2 separate regions of the Homo sapiens genome follow, and region 1 is linked to region 2. The links are contacts of gene promoters, found by promoter capture Hi-C in blood cells and fetal thymus (Javierre and others, 2016). All regions are on one chromosome and are shown on one strand. Each heading gives the region's core, a stretch centred on a gene start or on the middle of the fragment in contact. The rest is flanking DNA. Distances are from core to core; before and after follow the strand shown.

Region 1 (5,031 bases), core at 2,360-4,859, 110 kb after region 2:
AAAAAAAAAAAAAAATGACAGTGTAGACTAGGGTTTCTCAACCTCAGCACTACTGACATATTGACATTGGAGCTGCACAACTGTTGTGGGGGGCTATCCTACGCACTACAGGCTATTGAGCAGCATCCCTGGCCTCTACCCACTAGATACCAGTAACACTCCCCACAACAGGTTCTAACACCCAAAAAACGTCTCCAGTCATTGCTAAATGCTCCAGGGGCAGGAAGAGGCAATATTACCATAGGTTAAGAACCACTGAGTAGAGTCAGCCTTGGTGTTTATCCTTACCATTCAAAGAGTTCTGAATACAAAGTAACCAACCAGTCACAGAAACACTTTGCTGAGTAGATTCATGTATGACTCAGGGTAAAGTTATGACCTGAGTTTTCCAGTCTCCTTATAAAATATCATATTCTCCAAAGGGCAAGAGCAACACACCCAAAACAGAGGCATACCATTTTCATGCCTTGTTCTTGCTGGCAGTCTTTAAGGTTTCTAACTGACAAAGCCAGAGAAAACATCATCACAGGCAAGAGTAAGTATACTAAGACCTTAGCCAACTCTAGAACTGCTGGGTGTGGTTCCTTCTGGTGGTGGAGGGGTGGGTGCTTTTATATACCGTTTTGTCTTAAGGCAGTGATTGTGCCAGTAGATACACTGCAATACGCTTAAGGCTGTTTCAGTGAAAATACTATTTAAATCTAATTAACCAGAATACTGGGCAAATTTTATATTTGTCTGTTGTAGAAAATCTTTTCGCCATAGCACAGAAGGCTGAACAAAACCATATTTTTTGTTGTTGACTAAGGATTGTGTAATGCTTCATAGGTTTACAAAAATTATCTATGACTAAATGGTACTGAAGATTCAGAAAATCCAAGGAGAGGGCTGAATCTGAAAATGATGCCAGGCTATATCACAAGTGGAGGAAAAAAACCTTTTTAATGGAATGAGCTCAGTAACACTTTTGTATCTCTTTCCTAAGAATAAGAATGCCACCAAAGGTTTGAATTAGCTGTGTTCCTTTTTTTTTTTTTTTTTTTTTTTTGAGACAAGGTCTCACTCTGTTGCCTAGGCTGGAGTGCAGTGGCAAGAACAAGGCTCACTGCAGAAAAAAGAAAAAAAAAAAGGCTCACTGCAGCCAACTTCCTGGGCTCACTCCATCCTCTCACCTCAGCCTCCTGAGTAGCCAGAACTACAGGCCTGCAACACCACGTTGGCTAACTTTTTTTTAATTTTTTTTTGGGTGGGGGGGGGCGTCTCACCATGTTGGCCAGGCTGGTCTTGAACTCCTGACCTCAGGTGATCCACCTGCCTCAGCCTCCCAAAATGCTGGGATTACAGGAGTAAACCACAGCTCCCGGCCAAGTAAGGATTTCCTAATTAGCGCCTACTATACCAGGAAAGCCTGTCTTCTAATCTGTTAACATACTTCAGCTGTGAAATATATCTAAGGTGTTCTGACAATCGAAATACCACGCAACTGGGCCAGGCGCCGTGGCTCACACCTGCAATCCCAGCACTTTGGGAGGCCGAGCTAGGAGGATCACCTGAGGTCAGGAGTTCAAGATCAGCCTGGCAAACATGGTGAAACCCCGTCTCTACTAAAAATACAAAAATTACCCAGGCGCGGTGGAGGGCGCCTGTAATCCCAGCTACCTGGGAGGCTGCGGCAGGAGAATCGCTTGAACCTGGGAGGCGGAGGTTGCAGTGAGCAGAGATCGCGCCATTGCACTCCACCCTGGGCGAGAGAGCAAGACTCCTTCTCACCAGAAGAAAAAAAAAGAAAAGAAAAAGAAAATTAAGCTAGTACACAACACCACATCTATCCCGTTACTTCTATTTCATGAATTCTACTACAATGAGGTAGTAAACTGTAGCTAATACAATAATGGGCCGGGCACGATGGCTCACGCCTGTAATCCCAGTACTTGGGAGGCCGAGGAGAGGAGGGTGGTTCACCTGAGGTCAGGAGTTCGAGACCAGCCTGGCCAACGTGGTGAAACCCCGTTTCTACTAAAAATACAAAAAATTAGCTGGGCCTGGTGGCGGATGTCTATAATCCCAGCTACTCGGGAGGCTGACGCAGGAGAATCATTTGAACCCAGGAGGCGGAGGGTGCAGTGAGCCGAGACTGCGCCACTGTACTCCAGTTTAGGTAGCAAAAACGAAACTCCGTCTCAAAAAAAAATAGCCGCGCATGGTGGAGAGCGCCTGTAATCCCAGCTACCCGGGAGGATGAGGCAGAAGAATTGCTTGAACCCAGGAAGCGGAGGTTGCAATCAGCCGAGATCGCGCCATTGCACTCCAGCCTGGGTGACCAGAGCAAAACTCCGTCTCAAAAAATAATAATAAAACAATGTGCTGGACTACTGCAATACTGAGATCCTTCTCAGCCAAGTGTTTACAGGTGTTAGAGCGGCAACAGGAATTTCTGGAGTACAAGCTAATCTCTGTGGGAATGGAAAAAAAAAAGCACTAATTTGAATTTCAGTACCTATGTTGCAATGCTAAATTCTTGACAGGGATTAGTACTCCGTAGGTTATGCTTCTTAAATCTCCAAAAGTAAGCCAATATGTGAAATCGTACATTTTTGGTCCGTTATTCTAAGACTGACAAAACGTTCCATTGCTTCGTATTTGAATTTGAGAACTGAGACTCATTTAAAAATTCTTCACTGTTCTTTTCCTTTTTGCTCTTCGATTTCGCAAGTGAAACGGTCATTTCAACAGCACACACATTACACTAGAATAAAGCCAAGTAAAATGACAGACTAAATCAGATCCGTGAATACACGGTGACTCCTTATTTGGTTTTTAATACTTTCACTATGTTTCATGTCTTCGGGAAAGCAAAAGAACAACGTACTGTGCCAAAAGCACTAACTTACGAAAAACCAATTTAGACCAATTCTTTACAGCGTTAAGTATGGGTTGAAAACCAACTTTCCTAATACTTGTGGTCAGTGCCTCAAGGTCGTTAGGATAAAAATAAAGCTTCCAAGACACTTCGCAGCCTTCCAGCACTTCCAGAAAGGCCAAATAAACCAGCATTCACCTTCCCGCTCCATCCAGGCCCCGATTCTCCGACCAGAGAGGGCGCTGAGTGCCCGGGCACGGAGGGGCAGCGCCCTGGGGCGCCCGGCTCTGCCCAGGGCGGGGCTCGGCGGGGCCGAAGCTCCGGACGCCGCCCACGGGGACCACCGGCCCTTGGGCCGCCCAGGGGCAGCTGCAGCCCAGGGGAGGAGCTGGAGGAGCCCCCGGCGGCACCAGGGCCCGAGCCCTGACGGCGGCCGCCCCCGGCCGAAAAGTAAGGAAGGTGCCGCCCTCGCTGGACCAGCTGGGCCCGAAGAGGGGCCCCCCCACCACAAATTCGGAAACCGAGTGACCCCGGCGAGGGACGCGCGGTCCCAGCCCCGGGACGAGGAAGGGCGGCGGCGCGGGCGGGGGTTCTTTTCAGAACTACAGCAGGGAAGGCGGCGGGGGTGGCCGCGGGGCGATCCAGGGAAAATCGGCGCCTCACCTGCTCCTCTTGAGGCAGCTGCTGCCACTCGCTGAGGGGACAACATGGAGCCTCCGCCTTCAAAGCAGAAGCAGCAGGGGTGCAGAGGAGAGGGACGGGTGCGGGCGGGAACGAACCGGGCCCTGGAAGCGGGAAACGGGCGGAGCCTGGGCTCTAGAAAAAACTAGCCAGAAGGTGGGGCACGCGGAGCCGCGACGGAGCGAGCGCAGCGCGGTCTGCGTGGCCCAACGGACAGCCCGAGGCGTGGCGAGCGCAGGACGAGGCTAGGCGAGGCGGGGCGGGAAAGCGCACGCGGCAGAATCCCGCCACCGCCTGCCGCGTGTGCGCGAAGCGAGCCGCCGGGTACCTGTTGGCGGGGCGCTGAGTGCTACCGTCCTTTGGGAATTGTAGTCCCGCGCTCACTGGGTCCCGGCCAGCGGTCCTCATACTGCGCACTCATCTGGGGCGGGGCTTGGCGTGGTTCTCCGACGACTGAACTACAACTCCCAGCAGGCTGTGCGGGAAGGGGCGGGCTGGCTCGGGTCCTCCTGCGAGCTGCGGCCGGCGCCTAACGTGCAGACCAGGCCCCAGGCCGAGGCTTTATCCTGGAACCACCAGTGTGAGAGACAGCTTTGGTGTTTAACTAGGCCTGGGACCACAGGTGGGCAGAAGAGAGGCCTCAACCCTGGATGGCATGAACGTCACTGGGTCTTTAATGATTTTGACTTCATAAGGGCAGGTGGCCGTGACTTCATTACCACCTTTATTATCATCTCCCTATATTCCTGTCCCTGGCCATGGCTGATGCGCACCATCACCGCTCTGATAGCTAATGTAAGAAGTCCAGGCCGGGCGCCGTGCCTCACGCCTGTAATCCCAGCACTTTGGGAGGCCGAGGCGGGTGGATCACCTGAGGTCGTGGGCGTTCGAGACCAGCCTGACCAACATGGAGAATCCCCGTCTCTACTAAAAATACGAAATTAGCCAGGCGTAGTGGCGCACGCTTGTAATCCCAGCTAGTCCAGAGGCTGAACAGGAGAATCGCTTGAACCCAGGAGGCGGAGGTTGCAGTGAGCCGAGATCGCACCATTGCACACCAGCGTAGGCAACAGGAGCAAAACTCCATCAAAAAAAAAAAAAAAAAACTTGCACGCACATCCCAGCATTCTCTGCTCCTTTTCCCTGCATTACTTTTCTCCAAAAGACTTCATACCACTTGGCCAGGCGCGGTGGCTCACGCCTGTAATCCCAGCACTTTGGGAGGCTGAGGTGGTTGGATCACCTGAGGTCGGGAGTTCAAGACCAGCCAGGCTAACATGGTGAAACCCCATCTCTTCTAAAAATACAAAAAATTAACCAGGCGTGGTGGCAGGCGCCTGTAATCCCAGCTACTCGGGAGGCTGAGGCAGGAGAGGTTGCATTGAGTGGAGATGGCACCACTGCACTCCAGCCTGGGAGAAAGAGCAAGACTCCATCTCAAAAAAAAAAAAAAAAAAAAAGACTTCCTGCTACTATCTGACTTATGTTTT
Region 2 (4,913 bases), core at 721-3,220:
CGAGATGGGTGGATTGCCTGAGGTCAGAAGTTTGAGACCAGCCTGGCCAACATGGTGAAACCCCCATCTCTACTAAAAATACTAAAATTAGCTGGGTATAGTGGCAGGTGCCTGTAATCCCACCCACTTGGGAGGCTGAGGCATGAGAATTGCTTGAACCCGGGAGGCAGGGGTTGCAGTGAGCAGAGATCGTGCCACTGCACTCCAGCCTGGGCGATAGAGTGAGACTCCATCACAAAAAAAAAAAAAAAAAAAAAAAAAAAGACTACGCATTGGGTACCGAGTACACTGCTGAGATGATAGGTACACCAAAATCTCAGACATCACCACTAAAAACTAATTTATGTAACCAAATACCACATGTTCCCCCCCAGAACCTCGAAATTTAAAAAAAAGTAAAGCCTTTGACTAGAGGGGTCAAGAGTCAACTTGACCAAATAAGGGACAATTTGAGCATCAAAAAAAAATAATAAAAATAACTGTACACAAACTGAAACACATCAAATATGTTAAAACCCACGTGTTCATAAGGATATTTTTTAAAAACACTAGGCATCTTTGGAGGATGGAAAAGAATCACCCTATTATTCCAAAAGCTGGTAAATAAAGGAAAAGATTCAAGCATTTCCTAACTGAATTGTCCTCACGGAATGCAATTTAAAACTACAACAAACCCCAAAGCTACAAACCAATACTTGTAAGGTAGCCATATATGTATGCAAAAACAGAAAAATATTTGGAAGAATACGCACCAGGTTGTACAGAGGGGAAAGGCTGTACAGATGGGAAGGATGGTCAAAGGGGACATTAGTTTTTATGCTAATAGTTTTGGTTTTTGGCTTTTGGCTTTTTTTGAGACATGATCTCATTTTGTCACCCAGGCTGGAGTGCAGTGGCACTATCACAGCTCACTGCAGGAAGCCTCAGCCTCCCCAGCTCAAGTGATCCTCCCACCTCAGCCTCCCAAGAAGCTAGGACTATAAGCACATACCATTATCCTTGGCTAATTTTAATATTTTTTGTAGGGATGGGATCTCACTATGTTGCCCAGGCTAGAGTTTCGGTTTTTCAGACAAAGTGAATGTGTTCACGTATTTCTCCTGGAATTAAATACATTCTTTCTTTTTTAAGTCGAAGCTTTAGAGTCAGAGCCTCCTAAGTTCGAATTCCCTCTCTGACTTTTGGGCAGCCCCCTCTCTATACTTACCAGTATATCATTCCTCCTATCCATGAAGTTGGCAGTAATTATGCCTACTTCATAGGATTGCTTATTAACTACCTGGTGTGGATTAAATAAAAGAAGTGTTTAGCATGGTGTCTGGACCCCTGAGCACTTGGGAAATGTGGCTGCTATTGGGTCTAAAGGAAGAAGGAAACTAAGAAGGAATTGGAGGGAAGGAGGGAAAGTAGAGGGACTGGCCCTGCCTGGAGGCGAGGGAGACAGAGCCCTTTCTGACAGCCCCCATTGCCACCCACACAGCTGGAGCCCTTTCCCTGGACCCTCCCTCCCCAGCTAATCCCTCCCACTGAGGATGATGTGACAGAGGAGGCGGCCTGTGGGGTAAACCAAGGGCTGCTCTCCCTGAGCCCACCATTCCTGCCTTCAGGAGGCTTAGCAGAGCCACTGGTAGTTTGGCCAGAGGAGGGCTTGGAAAAGCATAAACGCAAACTTTGGCCACAGTAGAACCAGACCCCATGCGGCAGCTGAGGCTGGGGAGCCTCCAGGGTCATAACCCAGCACCGTGGTTCCTTCCCACAGTGTCTGAGAGAGCCAGACCCCCAGAACTCAGCATGTGCCCATGTGCCCTCCATGCCAGAGCTGTAGACCAACAAGAATACACATAATCATCACTAATAGGGTGGTTGTTCCTCAAATCAAAGCTTTAAAACCGTTTCTGGGGACTTACCAAAGCCATCCTTCCTTCAAGATGATGTCTTGTGTGTTGCTGACTCTGTGTCCAGCCTTAAATTAGCTCTGAGTTTCACTTTCCCTGTGACCCAGCCCATATACAACTATTTCAGAACATAGGCTGGGTGCGGTGGCTCACACCTGTAATCCCAGCACTTTGAGAGGCTGAGGCGGGAGGATCACAAGGTCAGGAGATCGAGACCATCCTGACTAACACGGTGAAACCCCGTCTCTCCTAAAAAATAGAAAAAATTAGCTGGGCATGGTGGTGGGCACCTGTAGTCCCAGCTACTCCAGAGGCCGAGGCAGGAAATGGCGTCAACCCAGTAGGCAGACCTTGCAGCGAGCAGAGGTCGTGCCACTGCACTCTAGCCTGGGCGGCAGGGCGAGACTCAGTCAAAAAAAAAAAAAAAAAAAAAACAGAACATAGATCAAGGTTCATGTAAAATTTTCCCTGTCTTCAAACAGGGGCAGAGCACATATCAAGTAGGCAAGGCGGCATGAAAATCAGCCAGACAGAAGAGGAATCAGAGCTCAGGATATAGATTGAGAAGGACTTAGTGGCAGTGTGGTCAGGGGCACAGCTGACAATCACCAAGTTTCAGGTGGAACAAGCAAGATCCAGTGGTTGTGGGGGCAAGGGAGGATATAGAGACAGAGACCATGGGGGAAAATTTCAAAAAGGAGAGAGGAGCCCCAGAGAGACTGAGATTCATGCCTCCAAATTGGGAATGATGGTTGCCGGGACAGGCAAACATTTCCACCAACCTCAAACCCCATGGCCCTAGAAAAATCGTATTATTGGAGGCACATTCCTCTACCCTGGAAACAGAGTGAGCCTGCTTGGACAGCAGTATAGAAACCACTCCCCTTTCTGCCTCTCACCCACAGTTCAGAAACACTCATTCCACACCAAATGGAAACCAAAACCCAGTACTGGGTGTGTAGAGGTTGCTTCTTTGAGGCACCTGCATGCTTATCTCACCCAAGCTCCAAATAAGTATCTCTTCTGTCATCTACATATAGTTGTCCGGTCCTGAGCAAACTGGACAGGAAGGGGTGGGTGGGGCTGGGGGGAGCTGAGCATCCTCACTGTGGGGCATGGGGGCGAGGACCAATAACTTACCCTCTTCAGGCTATAAACAAACAAACAAACAAAGAGCTTTAGTGTGGGGATGCAGATGGACTGGAGCCAGAACTGGAAAACTCTTTGGGAGCCACAGCAGTTCTGCATGACCAGCTACTCCCTCAGCTCACGTGGTCATGTGGTCTTGCTCCCATGGAGACGGCCTCTCTCAGCACCTCCACTCCATTCTCCTCTGAGTTGCAGTGGGACAATCTTCAAAGTATTCCTTCTGGAGGGAGACAGTAGGGTTGGCTTGGCTAATTATCTCCTGCCCCATTGTCCAGAGACCTCTGGGCCGGTCCCACTCAGGCTTGCTGATCATCTTTTTAGGGGCTGACCTCCAGTCCAGCAATCTCAGTTCTTCCTATGCCTGCCCTCCCCTTGCAACCACATCACACCCCTGTTTCCTGGGGCAGGAGGACTTCCACGTGCTGTCTGCTGAAAGGATCTCAGGTGGGTTGGCACAATGACCAACCAGACCATGCAGGGCGGAGTTGGGGAGGAACATCACTGTACTCATGCTGGGGCTTGTGGCTTTTCACCGAATCCAAGCTGTTCAGAGTGTCAGGAAATTATGTCCAGGAGCTATAGGAAAGGAGAGTCTGCAAATCAAGGGCCAGTGGAATGAGAATTCTGCTGTCTCCCTACTGTTCATGCTGAGCAGGAAAGGTGACAAAGTTCTACTGACAGAGAACAGGGTAGGGCAGGCCACACCCAGCCTGCTGGTAAGCTCTAGGCCTACAGCCTGGAATACTTACATTTTTGTTCACATGCACGCTCTCTATGTTTGTTTAATTGTATAAAAGGCTATAAAAGGAAAGATAAGCCTCCATTCTCCCCACCTCCAGCCTCCAGCCTCCAGCAACCCAGTTCCCCTTTCTAGAGGCAATGTTATCTTTCTATGTACATGCCAGGAATATCTTGGGCTACATATAATTTTAATGGGCTTTGGCCGGGCACAGTGGCTGATGCCTGTAATCCCAGCACTTTTGGAGGCCAAGGTGGGTGAATCACTTGGGTCAGAAGTTCGAGACCAGCCTAGCCAACATGGCAAAACCCCGTCTCTACTAAAAATACAAAAATTAGCTGGGCTTGGTGGCGCACGCCTGTAGTCCAGCTGCTCGGGAAGCTGAGGCAGGAGAATCTATTGAACCTGGGATGCAGAGGTTGCAGTGAGCCAAGATCACGCCACTGCCCTCCAGCCTGGGTTACAGAGTGAGACTATGTCTCAGAAATAAATAAATAAATAAATAAAGGATTTTATTAAATCTTATATCCATATAGAAGAATAATTGCAACATAAGTATAAAACACTAGAAATAATAACAAAACAGGTACCAATAAACCTAGTTGAAGAAATAGAAAATAACCAATTTCTTAAATAAGCCCTGTGTCCCACAAAAACCTGTCCACAGATGTTCATAGCAGCCGTGGTGGTTAATTTGTTGTGTCAATCCGACAGGGCCATGGGGTGCCCAGATGCTGTGTGATGTCTGGGCATGTCTGTTGAGGTGCTTCCAGATGAGATCAGCATTTGAATTGGTGGAATGGGTGAAGCAGATGACCCTCCCTTATGTGAGTGGGGAGCATCAATCTGTTGAGGGCTTGATTAGAACAAAGCTAGAGGAATGAGAAATTCGTCCCCTTTTCGTCTGCCTCACTACTTGTGTTGAGATAGCTCACCTCATCTTCTGCCCTCATACTGGGATTTACTCTATCGGCTCCCTGGATTCCCAGGTCTTTTGACGCAGACGGAATGATACCACTGCCTTTCCTGAGTCTCCAGGGTCTCTAGCCTGCAAACAGCAGATGGTGGGACTTCTCAGCCTCTGTGATTGCTGCAGCAGCTAATTTTTTGTAAGAAATCTTGATGGGGCC

Evidence for each region. Contacts are between HindIII fragments. The CHiCAGO score rates a contact against its expected background, and 5 or more counts as called.
Region 1: a contact is called between the fragment with the promoter of ATL3 here and the fragment with the promoter of PLAAT2 in region 2, in 3 of 17 cell types (naive B cells, total B cells and monocytes). The highest score is 7.7, in naive B cells.

The regions. Positions count from the first base shown.
Region 1 is chr11:63,667,767-63,672,797 of GRCh38, forward strand. ATL3 (atlastin GTPase 3) reads right to left here and starts at 3,610. Exons shown (of 13, transcript NM_015459.5): 1 at 3,524-3,610. The coding sequence starts at 3,569. RefSeq lists enhancers at 2,975-3,476, 3,477-3,976, 4,017-4,126 and silencers at 3,137-3,396, 3,427-3,486, 3,807-3,926. The HindIII fragment of the contact is 2,416 bases long and covers 2,996-5,031 here.
Region 2 is chr11:63,561,409-63,566,321 of GRCh38, forward strand. It overlaps PLAAT2 (phospholipase A and acyltransferase 2), which reads right to left and starts at 1,971. Exons shown (of 4, transcript NM_017878.2): 1 at 1,908-1,971. The coding sequence starts at 1,916. RefSeq lists a silencer at 2,928-3,007. The HindIII fragment of the contact is 3,539 bases long and covers 1,880-4,913 here.